Regions from separate parts of the Homo sapiens genome. Here region 2 is linked to region 1. Evidence: promoter capture Hi-C in human tissues and cell types (Jung and others, 2019). All regions are on one chromosome and are shown on one strand. The core of a region is centred on a gene start or on the middle of the fragment in contact, and the rest is flanking DNA. Distances in the headings are between cores, read along the strand shown.

Region 1 (7,277 bases), core at 2,634-5,133:
CATTCACTCAACTGTCAGGAGTCAACACAAACATCACCTCCTCCATGAAGCCTTCTCCGATTTACCCCTTGGGTCCCCACAGTGCCCTCCACAAATTTGGGCACAAATTCATGACTCCTTAGAGCCCAGGTTCCCAAATCAGATGGTGAATAAAATTAACCTAAAGACTTATTTAAAACAAAATAAAACAAACAAAACCAGATTTCTCAACTCCAGGCTGCTTTATAAAGGTCTGGAGAAGCCCAGGCTGTAAATGAGTTGGCGGTTTGCAGGGGAATCTGATGCACACAGCCCACCAACTAGCTTTTGTGCACTTAGTCACTTACAGGTCTGCCTCCCCTTTAGACTGTAAGAATCGTGGGGGCAGGGCCCCTTCCATACATACCTGGCACATAACAGGGACATGAAAAGTGTGTAAGATGGGAAGGAGGGAGAGAAAGACACACACATGCACACACACATGCACACGCACATATATGCACATACACACATATACACATGCATGTAAAGACATGTACATACACACATATGCATACATACACACATATGTATACATACACACATATATGCATATACACACATATGTACACATATACACATACATATATAGGCACATGCACAGACACACACATATGCATACACATACACATATTTATACACATATATACACAGACACATGCAAAGACATCCACACATATACACATACAAAAATATACCTATATACACAGATATACACACGCACACATGTATACACATACACACAGACATACACATATATACACATACACACACATATACACTCATATAGTATCCACACAACACTTAGATATATGCATACACACAGAAACACACATATACGCATATACATGCACATACCCACACGCATATGCATGCACACACATTGACACCCACACATAGACATCCACACATCCACATACATTCACAGACACACACATAGACACACATACACACATAGACACTCATGCACATGTACACACAGATATACACACAGACGCATACACACATACATACACATACACACATACACATGCACACACATACACATACAGAAATACACAGTGGGAGAGCAGGAGGCAGGGGCGGAAGAACCTGGACGGTTCACTGAGTCCAGTGCCCCCGGCGGGGACAGCGTGAAGGCCACGGCCACAGCATCCACTGCTCTCCTCCACCAACCCCTTAGCTGTCGGCCGGGCGAAGCTGTGGGTGATATGTCTTTCTTCTCATTTCTCTTTTGTTTAAAAAATCAATACACCATTTATGTAGGTCACAGTGTCATATCAGAAACCTGTACTTTGGAAATGACAATTTTGTGCCATTTTTATTTTCCATAATTGTTTCCTTGTTGTTCTCTCTTCATCAGGGGGGCAAGCCTTTGAAAATGCCAACGTGTCTGCCTTGCTGAGGGGAGGCGGGGGAGAGTTTTTCAGTGGGGCAGGCAAGGAGGGGTGGACGTGGGGCAGGAGCCAGGACAAGACACCCCAAGCTGCAAGGAACCCCTTTCCAACCACAGGAAGGTGAGGGGGTGTAGGTTTCTTTTTCCACTCTTTGCAGGGATCAGGGATTTTCCACTCTCAATCAGGGATGTGAGTCCAAAATTTTGTAGGTACAGAGACCAGCTGGCTCCCATTAGCGGTCAAGGCCCAGGGACCCCTCAGCTCCTGATCCCCAAGTCCAGGCCTCCTCCTAATCCAGGCATGGCTTCTTTGCTCCTGGGTTCCAAGAATTCCATCTTCTCTTCATATAAGTAATACCGTTCCCATGTTTGCAGTGGGTGCCCACCAAGGGCTGGGCACTCACCTGGCCCTGGACATGGCAGGGGGACCTCGCTGGCCCCCAAAACAGCCCCAGGAGATAGGCGTTCATGCTTCCCATTTCTACACGAGGAAACTGAGGCCAGTAAACATTCCCGTGGCCACATAGTTAGCAAGACGAAGAGCTGGGATTCAAACTGCCAAAGTCCGTGCTCCTAACCCACCTCTGCTGCTTCCTGTTCTTAGCCTCACTGCTTCTACCCCAAATTGACATCCATCTTTTCCCATTGCCCTTAGCCACCTAAGAATTAGAGGCCCAGAGGCTGGGCATGGTGGCTCACGCCTGTAATCCCAGCACTTTGGGAGGCCGAGGCAGGCAGATCAACTTGAGGTCAGGAGTTTGAGACCGGCCTGGCCAACATGGTGAAACCCTGTATCTACTAAAAAAAAATACAAAAATTAGCTGGGCTTGGTGGCATGCACCTGTAGTCCCAGCTACCTGGGAGGCTGAGGCAGGAGAATCGCTTGAACTTGGGAGGAAGAGGTTCTAGTGAGCTGAGGTCGCACCACTGCACTCCAGCCTGAGCAACAGACTGAGACTCCATCTCAAGAAAAAAAAAAAAAAAAAGAACTAGAGGCCCAGAGCCACTCGGCTTTGGGAATGCTCAGAAGCCCTCAACTTGCAACCTACTAACTCGTTTCTCCCTTTGTGGAATCCAGTGTTTCTTCTCTTCACCCTAGCCTGGGTCCCTTCGGGACTATAGTTGACTGAGCTCAGAGACCTTTTGGTTTTATCAAACTTATCTTTCCCTCCTGTTCACCCATTGCAGTTAACACTTAATTTCCACCAAGCTGCATCCACAAGCCCAGTGAATTTCCATCTCCAAGCACAGATGTCAAGAGGGCCTCCAGCTCCTGGTGCTTGCTAGTCATCATGTCGTCTGAGACGCAGCCACAGGGAGAGACTGATATCCTAGTGCCAGGGATGCCGGCTTCCAGGTCTGCATCTGCCACCTCCATGAGGCATCGGCCCCAGCAGTCACGTCTTTCTGTGACATTTATCACAGAAGCAATGAAGCCTCATGTCATTCCGTGTTTAACACCAGTCTCCCCCCGTAGAAGGGAGGCCCCATGGGGGCAGGGACCATGGCTGATTTGCTAAGAGCTCTCTCTTCAGTGCACATGGAAGCAAACACTAAATATTTGTTAAATGGTGGGTCTCCCCTCTGGGCCTCAGTTTCCTCGTATATAAAATGAGGAGGATGGGCCGAGTAACCTCAGCCCCTCTCCGGCCCTAACTTGGCGTGATTCCAGGATCGAGAAGAAGCAACAGGCCCCTGCCTGGGCCTATTATTGTCATCAGCGTCCAGCCCTGCTGGAAGCAGAGGGAGGGGTATCAATAAATAATGAACACATTTAAAATTCATTATGAGATTATTTTCTGAGAACAGGGAAAGAGCAGGGGCACAGAATGGGAAGGAAGCAGAAGAGATGAGCCCAGAAAGGGGAAGCCTGGGACATGAAGTGATATTAACAATGAACACGTGCACAGCCCTTTACAGTTTACCCCCAGACACTTCCTCCCCCATCATTTCCTCCATTATCCTCCCAGTGGCCTGTGAGATCTGTATCTGTAGAGCAGGTACAATTATGGTCCCATCCTATAGCAGAGAAAATTGGGGCTCCCTTGACTGACAACACATCAACTGGCAAGTGGCAGAGGCGGGATTGGAATCAAAGGCTCTGACTGTAAGCCAGCACTCAGGCAGCGGGCCCGCCACATGATGCTCACTGAGGAACACCCCTGCCCAGTGTAGAAGAAGATCACGAGGTCAGAGAGCCTGGGAGGGTGAGCTGTGGATGTTCCCCCAGGACAGCGTGTTCTCCCCACAGCTGCTGAGTTGGCAGAACCAAACTTGCCACCCACCCGTCTCATTTACAGTAAATCCAGTGGGTTGCAGAAATAGGACCTGAAACTGCCTGAGGGCAGCAGGGTGGGGGGACAGTGAGGGGACGGGAAAGGGGCCAGCCTGCTGGTCCATGGGAGGGGACCGTCAGGGGAAAGCCCTTCCCGCCTCTGGGGAAGGGAACTTCCGCTTCGGACCGAGGGCAGTAGGCTCTCGGCTCCTGGTCCCACTGCTGCTCAGCCCAGTGGCCTCACAGGACACCAGCTTCCCAGGTGAGGACGGGGCTTGGCGCCTGGGGGAGGCTGGCAGGGCCAATATGGCAGAAAGTGGTGATTCCGTAAGTGTGAGCTTTGCGTCACCTGCCTCGGAGCCAGTTAGGCTGTTTAACAGTGCAGGTAGCTGGGCCCAATCCCAGACCTATGGGACCCAGATCTCTGGGGTGAGTTGGGGAGTCTGCTGCTACCCAGGGCCTAGCGGATGGGCAGGCCACCTAAAGCGGGAGCCTGGCACATAGGAGCTTTGGCATCGCAGAGACTTGAGCTGAGTCTGGCTCTGCACCTTATGTATTGGTTATCTTGGGCAAGTCACCTAACCTCTCTCAGCCCGGCCCCCCTACAGAGAACAGAATCTTTCAGCACTGCTGTGCCTTACAGGAGATCAAGCTTGCAAAAGCTTAGTGCATGCCCTGGCTCAAAATTTATCAGTAAACCAGAGGCAGGAGTGGGATTATAAGCCAGTCGCTCCTGCCCGGCCCAGCATTTCCCCAACACCTTGCTTATTTCCTCATACTCGCTGAGAAAGCTCAGCTTGACTCTTCCAAAGAAATAAGGGGATGTGCAGGTAGAGTTACGATGAGTTCTCAGCTAGTACTGAGTGAGCGCAATGTTTGTGCAGCTGGGGAGTGGGATGTGGCACTGCACGGGGCAGGGGGGACCTTATTTCTTCTAAGCGCCTTCTCCTGTCATCCTTCTGGCAGCCCTGTCAGGTTGAAATCAGCATTGCCAAGAGGCTCAGAGAGGTTAAGGCACTTGCCTGAGGTTATGCAGCCGGTAGCAGATGGGGCTTTAAAGTCAAGTGGGCCTGACTCCATGTTGCGGAAAGGGACTGCTGGACCGAAGGAGATGGAAAGGTCAGAGCCTGGGGGGAGGACAGGAGAAACCGCGCTGGCAATGATGATGGGCTGGCACAGGCAGGAGGCAGTTAAACCAGATGAGTTGTAAGCCCTAACCCAAGGCTGAAACTCGGTGGCTTTTGAAATGGGCTAGAACCAGCACTTTCCCACTCCCCCTGCCCCTGGCTTCCCCAGGAAGCCCAAGTCCTGTCAGTACCCTGCTCCCCACCCTCTCTCCCCACCAACTGGTCACAGCTCTCCACCCCTTGCTGCCTCCAACTGACAGAGCCCCTCCCTCTAAACACAGTCTTTCAAAGGGATTGTCTTTTTTTACTTCTCCAACCATCTTCCCTTCTGTTCAACCACTCAGGAATTCTTGGATGACAGTGATAATAATAAAATAGCTAATATTCATTAAGAATTTCCAACATGCCAGGCTCTGTTGGAAGCTGTAACTCATGTCCTCGCACATACCCTATGAGGGAGAGAGTAGCATTATCCCCACTTTATAGGAGGGTAAACTGTGGCCAGAGAGAAGGAGTGATTTCCCAAGTCCCTTAGCTAAGAAGCAGTAGAGACCTTATGTGAACGCTGAGTGTTGCTTTCCTTGTGACACTACAGGCTCCCGCCACCAGGTGAATGTGTGCTGCCTAACAAGAGCAGCAATCATCGTGGTGGTAAAAAGCCACTTTCACCGAACACTGACCATGTGCCTACCACTACCCTTGGTGTGTCCCATGCATTAGTCCTTTTATCAGGCTGTCTGGCTTCAAAGTTTATGTTTTTACCACCAGGTACAGTGGCCTCTTAACATAACATTGAGTTTTAAGATCCAGTGGATGTGGGTTTGACTCCCAGCCACACAGGAGCTGTGTGACTTTTATCAAGGTGCTTGCCCTCTCTGATCCCGTTGCCTCATCTGTAAAATAAGAAAGCAAGAGTGCATTCTCAGGGGCTGAATATCAAATTACAGGGGATAATGGCATGCAAGCCATCTGGCTCAGAGCCTGGCCTATACGTACCCAACTTATTAAAGTTGTTAAATTGCCATTTTGTAAAACCTTTAGCAAGAGCAAGAGTGAGAGCTGATGCTTATTCATGGATAAGCAGGACCATGCCCCTGAGCCACCCTGTCTTCAGAGCATAGAGCCTGACAGAACCTAAAGCTGTCACCAGCATTCCCTGGCCACACTCATCTTTACAGCTTCCTTTCCTTGGTGCACAGTGTCTGGCATAACTCAGGGCTTTCAGCAAGAAATTGATCAGGACTAGGCTGAGGGGCTGAGGCTGGTTTGCAGAGCATAGGAGCCAAATATCAGTAGGCCTTGTCTGGTCCCAGGGAGCCCTCCACATGCCAGACTCTGGGGTTGGGACAGCCAGCATGTGGCAGAGAGGGTAGGAGTTTGGCCACAACCCTGCTGTTAGAATAGTTTGCTGGGTGATTTTTGGGTAGGTTGCTTTCTAAGTTCCGATCCTCAGTTTCCTCATCTGCAAGATGGGAAATTAATCACAACCCACTTCCCCAGGGTGTTGAGAGGATCAGAGAACAGCAGCAATAGCAGTAGCAGCCACAAGTCCCAATGAGAGCTTGGGGCTCAAGGCTTTATGACTCTTTCCCATCCATGGTCTCACCTGGGTCCCTGTGGCCACTCTGGGAAGTAGGCAGAGACCACTCTGCTCCCCCATTTTAAGAGAGGATACAGTTCAGCCTCTGAGGAAAGGTTTCCTGGAGGAAGAAGGCTTTGACCCAAGCTTCGAATGAAGAAAAAACATTTGGATCTGGGCAAAGGTGGAATGGGCTGCCTCGAGAGGTAATGAGCTGCCCATCACTGAAACGGTGCAAACTATGGATGGAAGAGCCCTTGGCAGAGATGTCATTTCCTCACACTCTGCTGAGAAAGTTCAGCTTGACTCTTCCAAGGAAATAATGTGATGTGCAGCTAGCGTTGTGATTAGTTCTTAGGGCTGAGTGAACACAACGTTTGTGCAGCAGGGGAGTGCGTTGAGGCACCACACGGGGGACCTTGGCAGAGGTGTCATTGAGGAAACTTAAGAATAGGCTGAAGGGTCCTCAGGAACTTAAACATGGAATTGCCATAAGCGGTAATTCCTCTCCTGGGTATAAACCCCAAAGAATTAAAAACAGATACTCAAATCCTTGTTCACAAATGTTCATAGCAGCACTCTTCACAATAGCCAAAAGGTGGAAACTTCCCAAATGTCCACCAATGATGAGTGGATAAACAAATAGCCAAGCGAGATGGTGCGTGCCTGTAATCCCAGCTACTCAGGAGGCTGAGGCAGGAGGATGGCTTGAGCTCCAGAGTTCGAGACCAGCCTGGGCAACAGAGTGAGACCCCATCTCAAAAAAAACCAAAAACCCCAAAACCAAATTGTAGTGTGTAAGTGGAAGGTCTGTAAGTGGAAAGACACAAACGGTATTTTCCTCTGCTCTCACACCACAACAATCAACACAGAAGACTTCTG
Region 2 (7,277 bases), core at 3,248-5,747, 570 kb before region 1:
GTTCTCATGGTACCTGTTGAAGTTAATATGGAAATGGATTTGGTGTAGAATGCATTTAAGTTCCCATCTATGAGTTGGGGCTTGCCATTTCTAGAGTAATAGAAATTCAGAGCTGGATGGGACAATATATATTGTCTTACCCATCTCTTAATGGATGAGGGTACTCAGGCCCAATTTAGGGATGAGACTTAGAAGTCTAAGTTTAATTACTTAGCGTAATTACACTAGCATAAGTAGACTTTGGAATGGAAGCCAGCTTTTCTGATTCTTAGTCTAGTTTTGGATATGAACAATCTAGTAAAGGAGGGTTGTTTTTGAGTCTCTTAAGTGTGATTTAAGAAAATAATCTGTTTGGTTTGAGAGCTTAACCACATTCATTCAATTTCTTTGTTCCTGTTTTTAAGAACCGACTTTCCTTTAACTGTCATCTCCCTCATGCCCTTGCTTCTCTTCTTTACATTTAAATAAGCTCTGGAACAATCTGTTAAAACATAAGTCAGAAAATCAGAGTAGGTACCTAAAAGTTAAGTAGGGCTGGTCTTAAAATGTGGCATTCTTCTCCTAGTTGGAAAGCTTTGCTTTTCTTTTTATAGATATCATTTAATTTTAAAATTTTTACTGTAAATTGACAGATTATAGTTGTATATGAAAGCATTGCTTTTCAATTGTAAATTAATTCTAAAGACTCCAGAATTTGTGTTGGGTCTTTTCCCATTTAGCATTGTTAAACCTCCCATTTTCACAAATAACTTCGTACAACCGATATTAGCATATGCTTTACTGAATTTGATAAGGGTTTTATGGTCTATTTACATATTAAGCATCTTGTTAAAGAAGATGTCTTAGATCATGCAGTTTGTGCCCAATAACATGAATTTTACTCATAAAATTCCCAGCTGGCTGGGTGCAGTGGCTCACACCTGTAATTCCAGGACTTTGGGAGGCCGAGGCAGGTGGATCATGAGGTCAGGAGTTTGAGACCAGCCTGGCCAACATAGTGAAACTCTGTCTCTACTAAAAATACAAAAATTAGCTGGGTGTGGTGGCATGCACCTGTAGTCCCAGCTACTCAGGAGGCTGAGGTGGGAGAATCGCTTGATCCCAGGAGGCAGAGGTTGCAGTGAGCCGAGACCATGCCATTGCACTCCAGCCTGGATGACGCAGTGAGACTCTGTCTCAAAAAAAAACTTCCCAGCAAATAATCTGCCAGCTTTTTCTTGGACACTTTGAGTACTTTGAGGGAACCGTTATTTCTCTCAAATGGGCTTGTTTATAACAAGGCTCATCTTTTCTAGGACTCTGAAAGGAAGAAAGGTCATGGATCTAGGATATTTTATTTCTAGATGAAAAGGAAATGGTCTATGAAGAAGTAGTTTCTTAGGAATCAGATTGAATGTTGAGGTAGACCACTGTCTGAAAAGTTTCAAACTTGAACAGGTTCATTTTGTGTAGCTAGAGGACTCTGCTCCTGTGACACCTCTAAACCTTCTCTGGCTCTTTATCCAGGCTGCTGGGGTAGAGCAGAAATCTCAGAACACATCCTTTGTCTTTTTCCAGGAATCATTTAGCTCATGCAAGGACTGGTTGGCAAGATTGGTTATATAAGGATGATGGATGGACTAGGGGACGATTAAGTCTTAGCAAGGAAACACTGCCTTAGCTTAAGAGTTGTCCTGTCCCATTTTAACTCTCTCCTTGCACACTAACAGTGTTGTATTTTTTTGTTTTTAGGTTTTTGACAACTATGCAGTCACAGTTATGATTGGTGGAGAACCATATACTCTTGGACTTTTTGATACTGCAGGTGAAAACTTAATGTCTTTTATACTGTTTTGATCTTTAACAGTTGCTAGTTGTCTGTCTCTTGTGGACATTTTGAGAAACTAGCACATGAGCAAAGTACTTGCCTTTTGTTATTAGTTAGCAGGATTGAATATAATGATTGTCGATGCTTGACCAAGGAGCAGTCCCAGACCTGGGTCGGCAAATAGGAGTTTGGAGTACCCTGGGTGAACAGTGTAGTAGATGAAGTAGAGTGAGACTAGAGTGCATCATACAAGCTCCAAATTGAACTAAAATCCTGATGCGTGCACCTTGCAGAGAACTGGGGACTGCATTAGTGGTTGGGGAGGGACTAAGGGAATGAATTCATAGGAATCATGCCCACTGATTCTCTCCCTTCACCCCTACCTGCTCCTTTTTAAAGCCTAGAGTTTCCTAAATATGCCTAAGGTTATAAGGTCATAAGCCATTTACAGTATTTATTATTATTACTCTCTTGATATTTGAAGGCATATTCAATTTATGTGTCTAATAACATGTTTAGTTTCTTACGATAGATAGCTTATTTTAAACTGTATCTGAAAATATTTTGAGAGTGAACTATTATCTGCTCACAGTATTGACATTTGTCAGCTATCCAAATTGTAAGAACAAATTACTTTCTTCCTTAAATGTACCTAATTCCTCAGTGCTATTTCTTGTTTTCAAGAGTGGCTGCACATCTTAATTTCTGACTTTTCTCTATGTGCCGTCTTATTATCAGCTCAGTTAGCCAGAGGAAAATCTCAGAAAGATATCCTTTAGAGTATCTTTAGAATGTAGGAATTCTAAACTTTGTGCTTTGAGTTACTGTTACTGTTTGCAAGTTAACATGTTGCTTCCATGGAATGTGGTGTTACACTGTGTACCACGAGGAACTATTTGGATTTAATTGAGAACGTGAAATGGAGAGACAGTAAAGATTAGAGAAATTTTTAATACATTAAAATCATAAAAGTAATGGTATATTAAATTTGGAATATAGAGAAAACAATGACCCATAATGTCATGATAAATGAGGGGTTTTCTTCTGTGTTCATTTGTGTCCAAAGGCACAGAGAAAATTTTTATTTTTTTTTTTTGTTGAGATGGAGTTTTGCTGTTGTTGCCCAGGCTGGAGTGCAATGGTGCAATCTCGGCTCACCGCAACCTCCGCCTCCCAGGTTCAAGCGATTCTTCTGCCTCAGCCTTCTGAGTAGCTGGGATTACAGGCATGCGCCACCATACCCGGCTAATTTTTTTGTATTTTAGTAGAGGTAGGGTTTCTCCATGTTGGTCAGGCTGGTCTCGAACTTCTGACCTCAGGTGATCCGCCCGCCTTGGCCTCCCAAAGTGCTGGGATTACAGGTGTGAACCACTGCGCCTGGCGAGAAAAGATAATTTATGGCTACTTGTGGTTGAAAATTAGTATTTTCAGATTTCAAAGTTTATTATTTATAAGCCTTTACATTTTCTGGCGAGTACTTTTGAAAGCTTTTTTGATGCGTAGTGCAATAAAAATCATTTTAAGGCCAGGCGCGGTGGCTCACGCCTGTAATTGCAGCACTTTGGGAGGCTGAGACAGGCAGTTCACCTGAGGTCAGGAGTTTGAGACCAGCCTGGCCAGTATGGTGAAACCCCATCTCTACTAAAAATACAAAAATTAGCCCAGTGTAGTGGTGTATGCCTGTTAAGTCCCAGCTACTTGGGAGGCTGAGACAGGAAAATTGCTTGAACCCAGGGGGCGGAGGTTGCAGTGAGCCGAGATTCTGCCACTGCCCTCCAGCCTGGCTGACAGAGTGAGACTCCGTCTTTAAAAAAAAAAAAATCGTTTTAAGTGTTCAGTGTGATGCATTTTGCTGACCCTCCACCATAATAAAATGTGTAACATTTTTATCACCCCTCAAATTTTCTGTGGTGAGTTCTTTTACCACTGAATGGTGTTGGCACCCTTATCAAAAATTATTTGACCATATATGTGAGTGTTTATTTCTGGGTTCCCTTTGCAGTCAGCCCTGTCCCTTGACCTGGTTCCAGGCAACCACTGATCTGCTTTCTTTGTTTCTACTGTTTTGCTTTTCTAGGGTTTCATATAAATGGAACCATACAATATGTAGTCTTTTGTGTGACTATTTTTACATAGCATAATGTTTGTGAGAGTTGTCCATGTTGTGTGTATTGGTAGTTGTTTCTTTTGATTGCCGAGTGTTATTCTGTTCTATGAATATATCACAGTTTTGTTTATCCATTAACAAGTTGATGGATGTTTGGGTTCCAGTTTTAATACTGGTGCTATGAATTGCTTCCACGTTTTAGCTATTTTGAATAATGTTGCTATCAACATGGGTATACAGATACCTTGTTGACACCCTGCTTTCAGTTCTTTTGGGGTATATACCCAGAAGTGGAATTGTTGGATCATGTTTTTAATTTTTTTGAGGAACCTCCGTATTGTTTTCCACAGTGGCTGTCCCATTTTATATTCCTACCAACAGTACGTGGGGTTTGATATAGTCACATTCTTCTGTTCGACACTTATTTCCTGTTTTTTTTTTTTTTTTTTTTTTTTTAATTGTAGCCATCCTAATTAGTGTGAGGTGGTATCTAATTGTGGTTTTGATTTGTATTTCCTTAATGATTAGTGATGTTGAGCATCTTATGGCCATTTATATATCTTTGGAGAAAGGTCTGTTTAATCAAGTTCTTTGCCCATTTTTGAATTGGGATTTTTTTTTTGGGGTAAGTTTTAGGAGTTCTTTGTAGATTCCGGGTATTAATCTCTTATCACATACACGATTTGCATATATTTTTTCCTATTTTGTGGGTTGCGTTTTTATTCTGTTGATACTATTTTCTGATGTATAAAATTTTCACAGCTTCATGAAGTTTGTCTATTTTTTGGTGGTTTGGTGTGATATCCAAACAAATTATTGCCAAGTCCACCTGAATCTTTTGCCCTATGTTTTCTGGGAGTTTTAAAGTTTTAGGTCTAACATTTAGACCTTTTATCCATTTTGAGTTAATTTTAGTATATAGTATTAGGTAAGGTTTCATCTTTGTCTTTTGCTTGTGAATATGTCATTTTCTCAGCACCATTTATTGAAGAGTCCTTTTACCACTGAATGGTCTTGGCACCCTTATCAAAAATTATTTGAGCTAGGCTAGGCACGGTGGCTCACACCTGTAATCTTAGCACTTTGGGAGGCTGAGGTGGGCAGATCACCTGAGGTCAGAAGTTTAAGACCAGCCTGGCCAACATGGTGAAACCCTGTGTCTACTAAAAATACAAAAATTAGCCTGGTGCGGTGGTGTGTGCCTATAGTCCCAGCTACTCAGAAGGTGGAGGCAGGAGAGTCTCTTGAACTGGGGAGGTGGAGGTTGCAGTGAGCCGAGATTGTGCCACTGCACTCCAGCCTGGGTGATAGAGTGAGACTCTGTCTAAAAAAAAAAAAAAAAAAGAAAAATCATTTGCCCACATATGTAAGGGTTTATTTCTGGGTTCTCTAGTCTATTCCATTGTCTTATATATCTCCCTATGCCAATACCGCACTGTTTTGATTATTGTAGCCTTGTAGTAAGTTTTGAAATCAGGAAATGGGAGTGCTTCAGCTTTATTCTTTTTCAAGATTATTTTGTCTATTGTCCCTTGTTTCAAGATTACTATCCCTTGTTGGGATTTTGATAGGGATTGCATTGAGTCTGTAGGTTGCTTTGGATAATGTTGACATGTCAACAATATTAAGTCTTCCAGTTCATGAATGTGGGATGTGTTTCCATTTATTTATGTCTTCTTTAATTTCTTTCAGCAGTTTTGAATTTTTTTGTTATCCAAGTCTTTTGCCTCTGATTAAGTTAATTCTAAGTATTTTTATTATTTTGAGTATCGATTAATTCTTGCTAAATTTGTTTTCTAGGCTTTATCAGTTTCAGATACCGGTCTTATATACACGCATTAACTAAATATGTGAACCTCTGTTTGTAGTCATGATGGGCAGTGGATTTTGTCATCTGGGTTTCAGTGAGGTTTTTCTTTCCTTAGATGATTTCACTGTGATTGTTTCTTTACCATATCTGAGATGGAGTCTCACTCTGTCACCCAGACTGGAGTACAGTGATGCCATCTCGGCTCACTGCAACCTCCGCCTTCTGGGTTCACGTGATTCTTCTGCCTCAGCCTTCCAAGTAGCTGGGATTACAGATGTGCACCACCACACCCGGCTAATTTTTATATTTTTAGTAGAGATGAGGCTTCATCATGTTGGCCAGGCTGGTCTTGAACTCCTGACCTCAGGTGATCCGCCTGTCTCGGCCTCCCAAAGTGCTGGGATTACAAGGATTGATTTTTAACCATTTCTGTAGCAAGAGTTTATTATTACATTTATTATTGGGTTTCTAATGGACACAAAGATTGAACACCACAAACTGGTAATAAAAGCAAATAACATAATAGTAAATTCATTGCTGTTCTGAGTGCTTGAAGTTTGTAGAATTAGCTGATTGAGAATATTGCCCACATATTATATTACAAAGCCATACATTTTATTAGATAAGTAAGTTGCTTTTTGAGTAATGACCAGCATGCTTTTAACACTTTGAGGACACCAAGATTCAGTTGCTGAATTCTCTCCAATATTTTTCTTTTTTCTAGGGCAAGAGGATTATGACAGATTACGACCGCTGAGTTATCCACAAACAGATGTATTTCTAGTCTGTTTTTCAGTGGTCTCTCCATCTTCATTTGAAAACGTGAAAGAAAAGGTAAGCTGATCAGATACTCTTGCCCTAAGAAGATCATCTCAGAATTTCTACTGACCTGTTATAAATAGCATTAGAGGCTTGTTGATTAACAAAGGTGTATTTTAAAATACCTTTTTTTAGTGGGTGCCTGAGATAACTCACCACTGTCCAAAGACTCCTTTCTTGCTTGTTGGGACTCAAATTGATCTCAGAGATGACCCCTCTACTATTGAGAAACTTGCCAAGAACAAACAGAAGCCTATCACTCCAGAGACTGCTGAAAAGCTGGCCCGTGACCTGAAGGCTGTCAAGTATGTGGAGTGTTCTGCACTTACACAGGTAAGAATGGCATGAAACCCCATGTGTATTTATGGTCGAGTCATTTATTAGAGCATTAGGATACAGGAGTTATTTCTAACAGTGATCAGCAGTGCTCAAAGATGCCCAGCAAGAATATGAACAGCTTCATATTGTATGTTCTTTTGTTAGAGGCCTCTGTGTTTTTTGGAGAATATTATTAGTTCCTAAACCCCTTGTGTTGGTAAGCTCTCGTATTGTACTGAATGATTCGTAGTGGTCAGGGTTGTGTTAAAACAAAAACCTTACAGGAAAGGTTCAGATAAGCATAAACTTGCAAGAGACGATGTGAATGATTTTTTTTTTTTCTAAACACTTAAATTTTCATCTGAATATGTCTGATCTTTTCTTGCCAATTCTGACAATTGATACTATACTGTTTC

What was found. Contacts are between HindIII fragments. The study calls those that stand out against the background at their distance.
Region 2: a fragment that was not itself captured here is called in contact with the fragment with the promoter of C1QB in region 1 in 1 of the 25 tissues and cell types used here (ovary).

What each region holds. Positions count from the first base shown.
Region 1 is chr1:22,649,353-22,656,629 of GRCh38, forward strand. It overlaps C1QB (complement C1q B chain), which reads left to right and starts at 3,884. Exons shown (of 3, transcript NM_001378156.1): 1 at 3,884-3,951. The HindIII fragment of the contact is 7,433 bases long and covers 1-5,446 here.
Region 2 is chr1:22,079,991-22,087,267 of GRCh38, forward strand. It overlaps CDC42 (cell division cycle 42), which reads left to right. Exons shown (of 6, transcript NM_001791.4): 3 at 1,732-1,804; 4 at 6,449-6,558; 5 at 6,679-6,876. Among named protein-coding and RNA genes, the nearest start is that of CDC42, 31 kb to the left of the region's middle. The HindIII fragment of the contact is 5,128 bases long and covers 1,934-7,061 here.